Regions from separate parts of the Homo sapiens genome. Here region 1 is linked to region 2. Evidence: promoter capture Hi-C in 16 types of primary human blood cells and fetal thymus (Javierre and others, 2016). All regions are on one chromosome and are shown on one strand. Each heading gives the region's core, a stretch centred on a gene start or on the middle of the fragment in contact. The rest is flanking DNA. Distances are from core to core; before and after follow the strand shown.

The links. The method cuts DNA at HindIII sites, captures the fragments that hold promoters and counts their contacts. A CHiCAGO score of 5 or more calls a contact.
Region 1: a contact is called between a fragment that was not itself captured here and the fragment with the promoter of S100A6 in region 2, in 1 of 17 cell types (M0 macrophages). The highest score is 5.0, in M0 macrophages.

Annotation. Positions count from the first base shown.
Region 1 is chr1:153,761,300-153,768,714 of GRCh38, forward strand. INTS3 (integrator complex subunit 3) reads left to right here. Exons shown (of 30, transcript NM_023015.5): 14 at 271-377; 15 at 1,429-1,548; 16 at 1,934-2,063; 17 at 2,533-2,587; 18 at 2,819-2,922; 19 at 3,391-3,435; 20 at 3,645-3,764; 21 at 6,375-6,528. Among named protein-coding and RNA genes, the nearest start is that of SLC27A3, 10 kb to the right of the region's middle. The HindIII fragment of the contact is 5,932 bases long and covers 2,191-7,415 here.
Region 2 is chr1:153,531,450-153,538,090 of GRCh38, forward strand. It overlaps S100A6 (S100 calcium binding protein A6), which reads right to left and starts at 4,542. Exons shown (of 3, transcript NM_014624.4): 1 at 4,500-4,542; 2 at 3,753-3,911; 3 at 3,150-3,381. The coding sequence starts at 3,890. The coding sequence ends at 3,247. S100A5 (S100 calcium binding protein A5) reads right to left here. Exons shown (of 3, transcript NM_001394232.1): 3 at 5,698-5,987. The coding sequence ends at 5,847. It overlaps LOC124904423 (a long non-coding RNA gene), which reads left to right and starts at 1,993. Exons shown (of 2, transcript XR_007066630.1): 1 at 1,993-2,472; 2 at 3,455-6,226. RefSeq lists a cis regulatory region at 780-1,107 and enhancers at 2,284-2,578, 4,532-5,167. The HindIII fragment of the contact is 28,060 bases long and covers 1-6,641 here.

The DNA of each region.
Region 1 (7,415 bases), core at 3,907-6,406, 230 kb after region 2:
TAGGAATTTGAGACCTGCCTGGCCAACATGGCAAAACCCGTGTCTACTAAAAATACAAAAATTAGCCAGGTGTGATGGTGCACACCTGTAATCCTAGCTACTTGAGAGGCTGAGGCACAAGAATCGCTTGAATCCGGGAGGTGGAGGTTGCAGTGAGCCGAGATTGTGCCACTGCACTCCAGCCTAGGTGATGAGAGTGACACTCTGTCTCAAAAAAAAATAAAAATAAGAGAAGCTCTGATATTGACCTTCATCATGTTCCCCATTTAGACACCTAGCTCCCCTGTTTGACAACCCTAAGTTGGATAAGGAGCTGCGGGCAATGCTGAGAGAGAAGTTTCCTGAGTTCTGCAGCTCACCCTCCCCACCTGTGGAAGGTATGAGGCCCGCCCATTCCATCACCTGTGTCAAAAGAGGGGCAAGACAACCAGGCCTTCAGGCCAGAGCCCCTTTCAGGATGTCCCACACAGTTCTCCACTTCCGTGACACTGTCCATCACAGTTTTTCCTTCCTCAGTTTATCTTTTTTATTCATTTTTGTGTTGTCTGTCTTGATTCTCTTGCTTTATCTAATCTTATTTGACTTGCTCATCTTTCTTGTTCTCTTAACTCTTTTCTCCTAGTAACTCCTGCTCAGTAGTTAGAAGGCTTTCATGTAATATTTACAATATTTATCTCACTTTAACTTGCCCATCTCTCTTCCCAGCTCTAGGCCCTGGCCTCTGATGACAGTTTGTCATGTTGGGCCTCAAACCTTACTCTCAATACAACTGCCATCTCCTTACCACACATACACACTTTGTTTTGGGATAAGGGTCTAAGTCAAGTAGTATTTTCCAACTTGGTTTTAAATTAAAGAGCACTTGGAGGCTGGGCATGGTGGCTCATGCCTGTAATCCCAGTACTTTGGGAGGCTGAGGCGGGTGGATCACTTGAGGTCAGGAGTTCAAGACCAGCCTGGCCAACATCATGAAACTCCGTCTCTACTAAAATACAAAAAAATTTGTATTTGGCGGGCACCTGTAGTCCCAGCTACTCAGAAGGCTGAGACATGAGAATTACGTGAACCTGGGACGGGGAGGTTGCAGTGAGCCGAGATGGCGCCACTGCACTCCAGCCCAGGCGACAAGAGTGAGACTAGCACTTCGGACTGTCCCTGATCTTACTCTAGTTACCAATCCTAATGAGCTGAGCATAGAGGAGTCATGTCCAGTGTTGCTCTTATTCCTGGCAACATCCCTCTGCAGGTCATGGAGGGTTGTGAGGACAAGAGGTTTGTCAAGAGGTTTGTCCTCCCAGGGTCAGTATTCCATTTAGATGATAAACTCCTTATTCTCTCACTTGCCCTCCATTCTCCCTTCCTAGAAGCATGGGGCATGTTAGAGGACCCAGGAGGCCATTAAATGCCTTATCTTTTTTTACTCCCAAGTCAAAATTGAGGAGCCAGTTTCCATGGAGATGGACAACCATATGTCGGATAAGGATGAGAGTTGCTATGACAATGCAGAGGCAGCCTTCAGTGACGATGAAGAGGATCTCAACAGCAAAGGTGAGGCCATCAGCAAGGGCTAGTTCAGGGTTGTGTCAGCCCTGAGAGGACCAGTTCCCAGAAGCAGCCTCTCTGCACTCTTCCTGTCACCCTTATTCCTGTGAGTTAAAGTTTTGTTCACAGGGTATCTGGATGAGACTCCAGAATGCAGAGCCCTGTACTTAACACTCAAGGCAGGAAGGAAAAAAGAAGTGGTTCCTGCCCTTGTTTGCTTGTAAGAGCTAGTACATGTGCACAGTCAGGGAGATGCTTCAGGCACTCACACAGCATTGAGGAAACAGGTGCACACTTAGGGCATGTGAGGAAGGGGATAAGTCATTGAGGGGACTGTCTCTGTTGCTGGCATCTGGGCAAACTGACTTCTTTCCCAAATCACTCCCTTTAGGAAAGAAGAGGGAGTTTCGCTTCCACCCTATCAAGGAGACAGTTGTGGAGGAGCCAGTTGATATCACCCCTTACCTTGACCAGTTGGATGAGTCCCTGAGGGACAAAGTACTCCAGCTACAGAAGGGGAGGTGGGTACAGACCTTGTTCTCAACTTCAGGAGGTTCAGCCCCAGGCTCTCTACCTGGTGCTTAATGGGTATAGCAGGAGATGGGGGTTGGAGGCAAACATGATAGGAGTGTGTGGAGAGGTAGCTGAAGCTTCATGAGGGAGTTCTTCTGCACTTTACGTTAGGGAGTATGAGCTGGGAGTGGGGCAGCCTCATTCCGTAACACCTTGAGTTCCCACTCTGCAGATTCTTGGGAGAAGAACCTCTGAGAACCAAGGCAGGATTGGTGGGGATTTTCCTTTTCTTTGGGCCTCTGCCCAGAGAGCAGCCAATTCTGCCCTAAAGCCTCCCCATCCAAGCTGGGATTTTACACAGAGCTCCTTTGTTTTGTCTCTGTGCATGTGAGTGTGCTTGTGCACTGTTCTGGGTGTGTGTCCTGCCCTCTGCTATCATTTATGTCCCTGGGATTTCCTCTCATTTCTGTCCTGCAGTGATACGGAGGCCCAGTGTGAGGTCATGCAGGAAATTGTGGACCAGGTCCTGGAGGTGAGGAGGAACCCAATCCCTTAGGGAGGAAGCAGCCTAGCCTGCTTAGCTTACACGTCTCCCAGGGAAGACAACTCACTTTTTCCCTCCCCTAGATGAGTCCCTCTTATAGTGGGGAGGGGAGCTTGCTGATCCTGGAGGTGGAAGCAGATGAGTTCCAAGACTGGGATCGTGGGGGCAGGAGGGCTTGGGTGTAGGTAGTGACTCTCCCTCCCTTGTCTCATCACCCAGGAAGACTTTGACTCGGAGCAGCTGTCTGTCCTTGCTTCCTGCCTACAGGAGCTCTTCAAGGCCCACTTTCGAGGGGAGGTCCTGCCTGAGGAGATTACTGAGGAGTAAGGCTGATTTTCCCTCACTCCAGAGCCTCAGGAGCCAGAGGGTGCTCTTACAGCCTGAGTCCAAGAGACCCCTTACTGTAGACTTGAGAAAAATCTGTTCACTTGGTGTTTTTATTCTCACATGTACCAACTCATTTAAACAAGAGCTTATTTCTACCTGCTGAACACCGTGCGTACTGGGGAGGTTGACACCTCCTCATGCTTCCAGCCCTTGCTGCTGGGCCCAGTAACTCTAATCTGCTGAATTAGGTGTGATTGGACCTTGGCCTGGAGCCTGTCTCCAAAGGGCAAGAGCGTGGTCCCATGTTAGGAACCTGTTTTCTCTGTTACCAAGCCTGCGGAGCAGCAGGAAGTTTGCCTTTTGGGTAGGGAAGGAGCAGGCTGGTGTCTAGCCTCCAGCTGGTCCTCCGTATGTGCCAGCAGCCCCCCTCACATGGATTCTCAAATATAACCCTCTTCTTGTAGGTCCCTGGAGGAGTCTGTAGGAAAGCCTCTGTACCTAATATTTAGGTAAGCACGCAGCTATAGGAGATACTGTTCTACCCTCCATCCTCCCTGACAGCACACACATGTGCTCCTGTCCTGGGGTAATGGGACTCGCTTTCCAGGGAGGAGGACATATGCTGTGGGCACAGACAGCCCATGCCACCTGAGAAACTCCATGGGAGAGTCTGCCCTGGGTAAAGTTCTGTTCCTCTCCTCCCATGCCCCACCTCCAGGAACCTATGTCAGATGCAGGAAGACAACAGCAGCTTCTCTCTACTTCTAGACCTTCTCTCCGAGCTATATCAGAAGCAGCCCAAGATTGGCTACCACCTGCTCTACTACCTGAGGGCCAGGTGGGTATGGTCCCCATGTTTCAAATGGTGTCAGGACACATCCTGGAGAGCCTCTCTTCCACACGCTGACTCCCCAACCCTGGACTGTCATCACCAGGGCCTTCTTTGTGGGTCTGTTTGGTTGAGTTGGTTTGTTTTTAAGAGACAGCATCTCACTCTGTCACCTGATGACACTGCGGCTCAGTGCATGTCACTCACTGCAGCTTCAGACTCCTGGGCTCAAGCCATCCTCCCCCCTCAGCATCCTGAGTAGCTGGGACTACACAGGCATGCACTACCATGCCCAGATAATTTTTTAAAATTTTTTTGTAGAGACAGGGTCTTACTTTGTTGCCCAGGATGGTCTCAAACTCCTGGGCTCAAGTGATGGTCCTGCTTCAGCCTCCTGAGTAGCTAGGATTACATACAGGCATGCGCCATCACGCCCAGTTATTGGTTTTGGGTTTTTTTTTCCCCTACTCTGAGTAAGCCTTGTGTACTCCTAAGGCTTTTTTTTAATTTAAATTTTTATTTATTTATTTTTTGAGACAGGGTCTCACTCAGTCACCCAGGCTGGAGTGCAGTGGTACAATCTCAGCTCACTGCAACTTCCACCTCCCGGGTTCAAGCAATTCTCCCACCTCAGCCTCCCAAGTAGCTAGGACTACAGGCACCCACCACCACGCCCAGCTAAGTTTTGTATTTTTAGTAGAGACAGGGTTTCTCTGTGTTGGTCAGGCTGGTCTCGAACTCCCGACCTCAGGTGATCCACCCACCTTGGCCTCCCAAAGTGCTGGGATTACAGGTGTGAGCCACTGTGCCCGGCCTCAATAATTTTTTAGTATATTCACAAAGTTATACAACTATCACTACTATCTGATTTAGAAAGAACATTTTTATCACCCCAAAAAGAAATCTCATACTCATTAGCAATCACTTTGCCATTTTCTCCCCTTCACCCAGCTCTTGGCAACCACTGATCTGCTTTCTGCCTCTATAGATTATTTTGGACATTTTCAGATAAATGGAATCAAACTGTATGTGATCTTTTGTGACTTGCTTTTTTCTTTCTCTTTTTTTTTTTTTTTTTTTTTTTTGAGACAGAGTCTCGCTGTGTCGCCCAGGCTGGAGTACAGTGGTGCGATCTTGGCTCACTGCAACCTCCGCTTCCCAGGTTCAAGCGATTCTCCTGCCTCAGCCTCCCGAGTAGCTGGGATTACAGGCACAGATCTTCACGCCCAGCTAATTTTTGTTTTGTTTATTTGTTTGTTTTGAGATGGATTCTTGCTCTGTCACCCAGGCTGGAGTACAGTGGTATGATCGCAGCTCATTGCAACCTCCGCCTCCTGGGTTCAAGCAATTCTCCTGCCTTAGCCTCCCGAGTAGCTGGGACTACAGGTGCACGCCACCACATCCAGTTAATTTTTGTATTTTTTTGTAGAGATGGGGTTTCACTGTGTTGGCCAGGCTGGTCTCGAACTCCTGACCTCAGGTGATCTGCCCACCTCGGCCTCTCAAAGTACTAGGATTATAGACGTGAGCCACCGGGCCCAGCCATTTGTATATTTTCTTTGGAGAAATATCTATTCAAAAATGTTCCTATTTTTAATTGAGTTATTTGTCTTTTTATTATTGACTTTTAAGATTTTTTTTTTTTTTTTTTTTGAGGCAGAGTCTCGCTCTGCTGCCCAGACTGGAGTGCAGTGGCGCGAGCTCCACTCACTGCAACCTCCGCATGCTAGGTTCCAGCAATTCTCCTGCCTCAGCCTGCTGAGTAGCTGAAATTACAGGCGCACACCACCACGCCCGGCTAACTTTTTGTGTGTGTATTTTTAGTAGAGACAGGGTTTCACCATGTTGGCCAGGCTGGTTGGCCAGGCTGGTCTTGAACTTCTGACCTCAGGTGATCCGCCCTTCTCTGCCTCCCAAAGCGCTGGGATTACAGGCATGAGCCACCATACCCGGCCAACTTTCAAGAATGTTTTTAAGATTTTGTTGCATACCAAAAGTGTTCTTTATATATTCTGGATGCAAGTCTCAGACATAATGATTTGCAAATATTTTTTCTTCCATTCTGCGAGTTTTAACTTTTTTGATAGCATCTTTTGAACAAAAAGTGCTAACTTTTTATGAAGCTAAATTTGTCTATTTTTTTCTTTTACCACTTGTGTTTTTGTTGTCATGAAGATTTACTCCTGTTTTCTCTTCTACAAGTTGTGTGGCTTTAATTCTTACATTTAGGCCTACAAGCCATTTTGAGCTAAGTTTGTATATGCTGTGAGGTGTCACTGCCCTCATGGTTAGAGCCCAGAAAGCAAGAGAGAAAGCCTTCTCCAGCCTGACCTGAGCCCTCCCTCTTCTGTTCCTGACTCTCATCCGGCAGTAGCTTCACTCACTGATCGTGGTTGGAGCCCTTTTGAGCTCTGGGGAAGGATGGACAGAAAGAAGAGTATCCCCTGGTTCCCCTGAGTTATCAAGCCCCTGTGGGAGGCAGTTGGGAGGGACATGAGGCAGATTAGCACAGGGCATCTGGAGCCAGCAAAGCAGTTTTAGAGCGGGAGCCTGCTTCGGGGATGCTTGAAGGTGGGCACTGGGGTCAGGCTGCTGGCTCAGGCCCAGCTGGTCTTGCAGCAAAGCCGCCGCAGGGAAGATGAACCTGTACGAGTCATTTGCCCAGGCTACCCAGCTGGGCGATCTGCACACCTGCCTGATGATGGACATGAAGGCCTGCCAGGAGGACGATGTGCGGCTCCTGTGCCACCTCACGCCCTCCATCTACACAGAGGTCAGTGCCTGCATCCGTATCTGTGCCGGGGGGCTCACAGGAACACACCTCAGTGAACACTCTGAGTACACACAACCCTGAACCCTCTTTTGTTCATCCCCACTAACCTAGGTGGGCCATTGCTTCCCACACTCACAGCTGTCCCCTCCTTCCACTTCTCTTTATTAGTGGTTGAAACATTTCTAAAACTCCCTGAATTCCTATACTTTGGTGTAACTGATGTGCGTTGGGGTCTGAGCCTATATACTTGGCTTCTCAGATTGGGCCCCATCATCTGGACCCAGGACAGATCCCACAAACCAGATCCATGTTCATATGTCCCAGGCCCTCTTGTCCTCTGATGGCTCACCCTTGCTTGGATTCTCTCTGATAGTTCCTGATGACCAGGGCTTCTGTAGTGGAGACTCACTTTCATTTCCCCTGGTTCACTCACACTCTAGGAACTGGGACATAACAGGTATCGGCCCTTTCTCCTCTTGGTAGAAGTTCCCAGGAAGAGGGAAATAAGGACCCAGGGCATGACAGGAGGAACTGTGATCTCAGCCGAGTACTGGAGGGAGGAGGGGTGCAGATCCTGGACACAGGGTACTTTCCTCCCCCTTCTCTAGATGAGGCCCTGCCTACCCCACACACCTCCAGACATAAACTCTCTACACCACCTCTTTGGCCAAAGGTCAGCACAGGTTGGACTTCTTTGCTGCCAGGGATGCAAATATTTATTCTACCACTGCTCCCACACAGAATCAGCCACCATGGCCAGTCCTCTCAGCTCTGGCTTTATCTCTAGTAGTTCCCCATTCCTTTCTGTACACACATGCTTTGGGAAGTATCAGAGAAAACCCACACCCCTGATGGTGTGCACACATAAATAACAAAACTTGGGGGCT
Region 2 (6,641 bases), core at 3,292-5,791:
GAAAATGGGATGGGGAAGACAAGTTAGGGAATTAGAAGGTGATGGTAATGTTCACTTGTTATACTGGGTGGATTTTGTGTCATTGTTCTTATATCTTAGATTTAGTCTATAAACAGTTTTATGTATTCCCAATATCTAATTAAAACATTTAAGAGAAAAAGATAAGGAAGAAATGGTCAAAGAATGTCATGAGACAGGCACTAATGAGCTGGCCTGGAATCAGGAGAACTCAGCTCTGCTCGCAGCTCCCTCTTAACTTACAGTCTGACCTGGGTAGAGGCAATGGCTTCCCTGTAGCTCCCTCTTGTCACTTGTCCAGTGGGGTTAATCATATATACTACACAGGCTGAGCACAGCGGCTCACATGGCTCACACCTTAATCCCAGCACTTTGGGAGGCCAAGTGGGGAGGATCACTTGAGGTCAGGAATTCAAGCCCAGCTTGAGCAAAACAGCAAGACCTCATCTCTACAAAAAATAAATTAGCCAGACATGTTGGTGTACACCTGTAGTCCTAGATACTCGGGAGGCTGAGGTGAGAGGATCACTTGAGCCCAGGAGTTGGAGGCTGCAGTGAGCTATGATAGTGTCACTGCACTCTATCCTGGGCAACAGAGAGAGACAGTCTCTAAAAAATTAAAATAAAATAATACATACTACACACAAATCTTCTAAGATGACAAGAGGCAATGGCTATGATAGGTGCCTCACAAAAATGAAGCTGCTATAAAAATGTGGTCCTATACAAAGGTGGTGGCATTATTCTTGACAATTTCCTTTTTGCTTGGCAAAAAACAGAGAGCTACTTCCTGTGACTCAGTCCTAAACCCCCTAACTGGGGCCTGCCCCAGTTTACAGAGATGGTCTGTGGTGCTGCTGTTGCAGCTTCACCAATGTTAGGGTGATTAGATTGTAGGATTAATGTCAGTAATGGGAGGACCTCAACTGAAGGAAGTGGAGAGACTAGAGCCACTCCCACTGCTCAACCTTCAGAGAAGCAAAGTGACCTCTCATGAAGCCCTCAGCTCACATCCTAACTTTTCCCCATCCTGTAAGCCCACACCATACTCAACAGTGAGCTGAAAGGATTCAATTCCAACTTTAAATTGGTCGGAGCAATAAAACGTCCAGTCTATGCACCTCTCCACACCCAATTCCACCATTTGACTGCTGCACCTACCATATTCCATTGTAAATGCTGCTTCCCTCCCCTATCCTGCGAGAAAAAAAAAAAAAACCTAAAAAATTATACCCCTAAAGATTTGCTGTTTGTTTTGTTTTTTGTTTTATTCTTGAAATTCATGTTCCCTTTCCCCTCCACCACTGTGGAGAAGCAGAAACGAAAGGACACGCCTGTTTACTGAGCAGATGGACTGTGCACCTGTGTTGATTCTCCTGCACCGGTGGCCTGCCCACCCACCAGAGCTCCCCAGGAACGCCCGGCAGACGGCCTTGCCTGAGCATCCCCTCCCCGCAGCAGCGGGCTTCCTGTCACTGAAACTCCTCTTCCCTCTCCTCAGGGAGCATTGATTTGTACGAAGGTCTTCTAGCCCTGCAGGTTGGGGAGGGGAGGCGCAGGGTTCCGATTCCATTTGTCTTTACAAAGGGACCGCCTTTCCCTCATGGACTTGCTTATTGTAGGTGTGTCAATTGTGAAGCTGAGTTGCTTAATTCTAGGGCTGATTGCCGGGAGCTAAAGGATCCCCCTACCCTGACATTCCCGGGGCGCCCTATTCTGTCTTCCTCTTCCTAAGGACTCCCCTGACTGCCAGGCCACAGCCCCACGGCGGGCCCCTGCCAGAGGCTCAAGAAAACCAACCCGACTGTCCCCGCAGCGCCCTGCTCTCTGTCCACAGGAGGGCGCTCGCTCCGAACCCCAAGTTGTCAGCCACTGGAAGGCAGGCGGAGAGGGACTGGAAGAAAGGGGGAGGAAAGGGGTGTAGGGCGGGAACCTAGAGGGGCGCGGGAGGGGTTAGGGAGCGCGTACTTTTCCAGAGGGAGCTGAATAGAGCCAAGGCTTGGGCACGGCTGTGCAGAGAGGGAATTCGGCCCCCGGTCTCTTGCAACCAACAGCGCGACTTCTCCCTGCAGGGCAGGGGAGGCAATAGAGAAGGAGGGCCTCCAAGAAGGTGCATCTCCCAGCTGTTTACCAATCCCCACCCAGTGGGGACAGAAGACAACTTAATTCCACAAAGTTGGACCCCCAAGGGAAGTGGGGAGGTGAGAGGGAAAGAAGGATGTGGTCTCCATCTAAAGTCAAGATCTCTTCCCCAGAAGCTAGAGGTAAACTTGCCCAGCTCGGACTAGGCCTAGAGAGGCTGAATGATGTGGCATCACCCGGAAACAGCGTTTACCCTCCTTATCCTCTTCCCTTCTGCCTGAAAACACTAATCCAGATGATGGACAATGATTCAATTAGTCATCTTCTCTGATGGGGGCTGAGATCCAGGCTGGGATCCCGTGGAAGTGCCGGGTGAGTCATTACGCTGAGGCTGCAGGGATACCCCGCCCCATTACTGAACACCCCGTGGTTCACGTGTTGGTGCAGCTGCCAGCTCCTCAGACCACCGTTCCAACAAAAAGCCCTCACCCTGAATGCAGGGACACACTCCAAGAGTGTGCCTCCCCCACTCCACCTGGGACCTGGGCAGCCGCAGTAGACTCAGTCACACAGCGTCCTCACTGGTGTAGGAAACTCCCTGAGCCAAGCCTCAGGCATCTCAGATGTGCCCTATCTAACCCCTGCGCTGTGATGAGAAAGGGGACTTGCCCCACCCCAGGGCCCCTCTTGCCACACCCAGAGCAAAACACATCTGGGAGCCTCTGGGACTATCTCTGCCTCACTTCCAGGCCCCCAAACCCCATCACATCCCGGCCCAGGGACCATTTCCATCTCCAAGCTCATCCCAGGACTCTCTCTACTGGAAACCACTTGAGCCTTTCCTTAGGATGGCGTTGCCAAGAGGGGCATCTCTCCTCATTCACATAAAGGCACCTTATGTGCTAGAGGCAGCCTTGTCAGGGTGGGTCCTCTGGCCTGGCGAGTCAATGAGTCATTTTCAGAGGTTGACCGTGAGCAAATCTTCCAATGGCTGGTGTCCCACTAAGCCAAGGAGGAACAGAAATCATTCGGAAGCCAGGACGCAAGGGTAAATTTGACCAAAAAAAATTTATTGTACAATTACCCACCACTGGATTTGACTCAGAGAGGACCCCCAGAGGGTGTCTCCATCTTCCCTATTTATTTTCAGCCCTTGAGGGCTTCATTGTAGATCAAAGCCAAGGCCCCCAGGAAGGTGACATACTCCTGGAAGTTCACCTCCTGGTCCTTGTTCCGGTCCAAGTCTTCCATCAGCCTTGCAATTTCAGCATCCTGCAGCTTCTAATGTGTTAGAATGTGAAATCCATACTCAGTGGTGATGACAACCCTGGATTCTTCCCCTTCCCCCTCCCAGGCAATCCTCTCTGCAAGTGGCTCTGTGCTCCCTCATCACCAAGGACCCATGTCACTTTGGCATTGCTTCTCCTCAGCTACTTCTCAGTTACTGGTCCTCATTTGGAGAGATGGATATCCGGCTGGAAGCATCCCCTACCCGCTGGGAGAGTGGGTCTACAGCTCAGGGTCTACATGTGGACCAGGGCCTCAGAATGTGGGTAAATGTGAGTCAGATGCACCTGGCACCTCTCTCTCCCCTAATCCTGCTTCCAAAGGACAAGGGTGGGAAAAGGGGTCCTGGGGAGGAGGCCACTCACCGAGCCAATGGTGAGCTCCTTCTGGATCAGCTCCTTCAGCTCCTTCTTGCTCAGGGTGTGCTTGTCACCCTCCCTGCCGGAGTACTTGTGGAAGATGGCCACGAGGAGGCCAATGGCCTGATCCAGGGGGCATGCCATGGCTGAGGGCTGGGCTTGGAGCTGGCAGCAGAGGGCCTAGTCAGTGCCATGGGAGCAAGGACTTCTCACCCACACACCCCAATAATGCTGCCTGCACTAGCCCCGCCTCCTTTGGAACCACCCAGTCTCAGGCCACACACAATGGCATCAGGAGACAGCCCAGGGCTTGAAGGGGAAGGAGAGAGCACACTAGGGCCAAGGCAAGAGAGGTGGCTTAAGGATTCTAAGAAGCATATAGGAACAGTAGCTTTGGGCACAGCTGAGAACTGTCCTTCAGGGGATCCAGAAGTTGAGGAGTATGGCTGGGCAGGGGAGGGGAATGGAGGCTGCAAAGGCAGCTTAAACACAGCTTCACAGGGCCACACATGGTGGCAATGACACACCCAGGGCACTCCCTTCCGCACCCCAAAAGAGCACACCCCATTGCGATCCCTTAGCCCAAGGCCTGCCTGGCACAGCACTGCTGCTCCTGACTATCCCTCCAGCGGGGGAGCGCCACAGATGGCCCCAGTCTGGATCCAGCGGCTGAACTGGGCAGGGGATGGCTGGACCCCCAGCGTGAGGGCAGCTGGCCCTGGAAAGTACCCAGGGCTCCTGGAGAGAACTCACCGGTAGGGAGGCGGCCAAATGCGACGCGAGCGGTCGAGGGGATGGGCTGTGTCGCAGTCCGACTGGCCTTATAGCGGTCGGTGCCCCGGAGGCCAGCTCGGCCAAGCCCACCCCGCCCGCCCAAGTCCCGCCCGCGCCCCACCCTGCGCCGTGGCTTACACAACGCACATTCGCGGTTTACCCCCTCGACTTTCCACGCCTCCTGCCCGGGGCTGTTCCGGGTTAGGACGGGATGGGGGAGCCCAGCAGTGCCCACTGCACGCCTGGTGACGAGTCTCCCCTCATCTGCGCAGCTCAGTTTGCTCAGTTTGCTCTTCGTGACACGTGACTCGGCAAGGGGAGCAGGAGGAGGACTGCGGCGGTCACCCCTGCTTCCTCTGCCAGACCGTGAATGTGACCCTCGAGCCAGCGCAGCGTCAATGTGGGCAAGGAGGGCGCCTCACAGGATGCCGGTGTCCCACAGAGGATACTCAGGGTCACCCCAGAGGAGATAGGGGGAGTAGCCAGTGGTGTAAAGGATATCTACGGCGCCCATCCCCCACCAGCAACAAGTTCCTACCAACACCTCCACTCCTTCCCCTCAGTGCCCCAAATTCCATTCACTACAGCACCTTTGGTGTTAATGTGCATGCACGTGGGAGCCCAGCCCTGTAAGCACCATTCGTTATTTACGGGGGAGTGAAGGCCTTTTCAGACCCTCCCCTGAGAAAAGATTTTGATGGAGGAGGCAGGGAGAGAAGAAAGCACTGTCCCCCATAGATGATGAGAGTGGTGCTATTGAAGGGGAAATGGTGAAGAGGGAGGGGGCTGGTGTGGAGGCCAGACATGCCCTTCCTACAGGTGCTGCCAAGGTGGCCTCCGGTGAGCTGTGGACAAGTCAGGCCTGCCTGCCTATCACCGCCCTCAGGAGCCACTCCCAACCCCTCCCAGTGTCCTCCTCTCAAAGCAACTTTCCCTCTTAACTTCCTCTGCATCCTTGCAGAGTTCCCGCCTGGCCTAACTTCCCCATTTTCCAGGCAGGCAAAACTAAGCCATGACAAAACCAATGACGTCCACACCAAAGAAGGAGAGGAATGCAGTGGGAGCCCAGGACCCTAACCCCCAGAGGCAGAAGCTGTCTCAACCCACTCAAGGAGAGACCCTTCCTGTGCTCCCCTCTCCCCAGGCCAAGGTAGACAAGACAGCTTCAAAACCAGACTCCCAGCACCTGCGATGGAAACTTTATTTCCTCCCATGGAAGGGTCCATCTGGGAGGGAGAGGAGGGCAGGGGGCCAAAGAGGGTCTGTGAGAGGAGCAGCCGAGGTCAGCAGCAAAGGGTGGAGGGTGAGGGTGGAGGGCAGCCCTGGTCACTTGTTGTCCTCTAGAAAGAAGTCGTTGTAGGCCATGCACAGCATGGTCAGGAACACCGAGTACTCCTTGAAGTCGATCTCCTGGTCGCTGTTCTTGTCCAGGCTCTTCATCAAGTCATCGATGCTGCTCTCCTTCATCTTTTGTGGACCCAGGTGGAGAGACAGCTCAGACCCCGCTCCCAGCCCTGCCCTCGCACCACTGCATGGTGTCATCCCCACCCCGAAACTTCAGGGTGAGCCCCAGCTGAGTCAATGACACTGTCAGCATCTCGACCCCCAGAGTCTGCCCACTGCCCACACCTAGGGAAGGGCCTGGCATGAGGTAGGGGGTCAGGGACCTGACTCCTGAATGGAAATAAATGACAGCAGGAATGCTAGCCTAGCCTGCCTTCCCTGCAATACTGTCCCCCAGCCAAAGAAACAATCATCTAGGTTTTATACCAACACCTGATAAAAACAGCTTGCTGGGTCAGGTGTGGTGGCTCACACCTGTAATCCTAGCACTTTGGGAGGCCGAGGCGGGTGGATCACCTGACATCAGGAGTTCGAGACCAGCCTGACCAACATGGTGAAACCCTGTCTCTACTGAAAATACAAAATTAGCCAGGCATGGTGGTACATCCCTGTAATCCCAGCTATTTGGAAGGCTGAGGCAGGAGAATCGCTTGAACTTGAGAAGCGGAGGTTGCAGTAAGTAAGATCATGCCATTGCACTCCAGCCTGGGCAACAAGAATGAAACTCCTTCTCAAAAAAAAAAAAAGAACACCTTGCTGATTATGTGGCATTGAGCA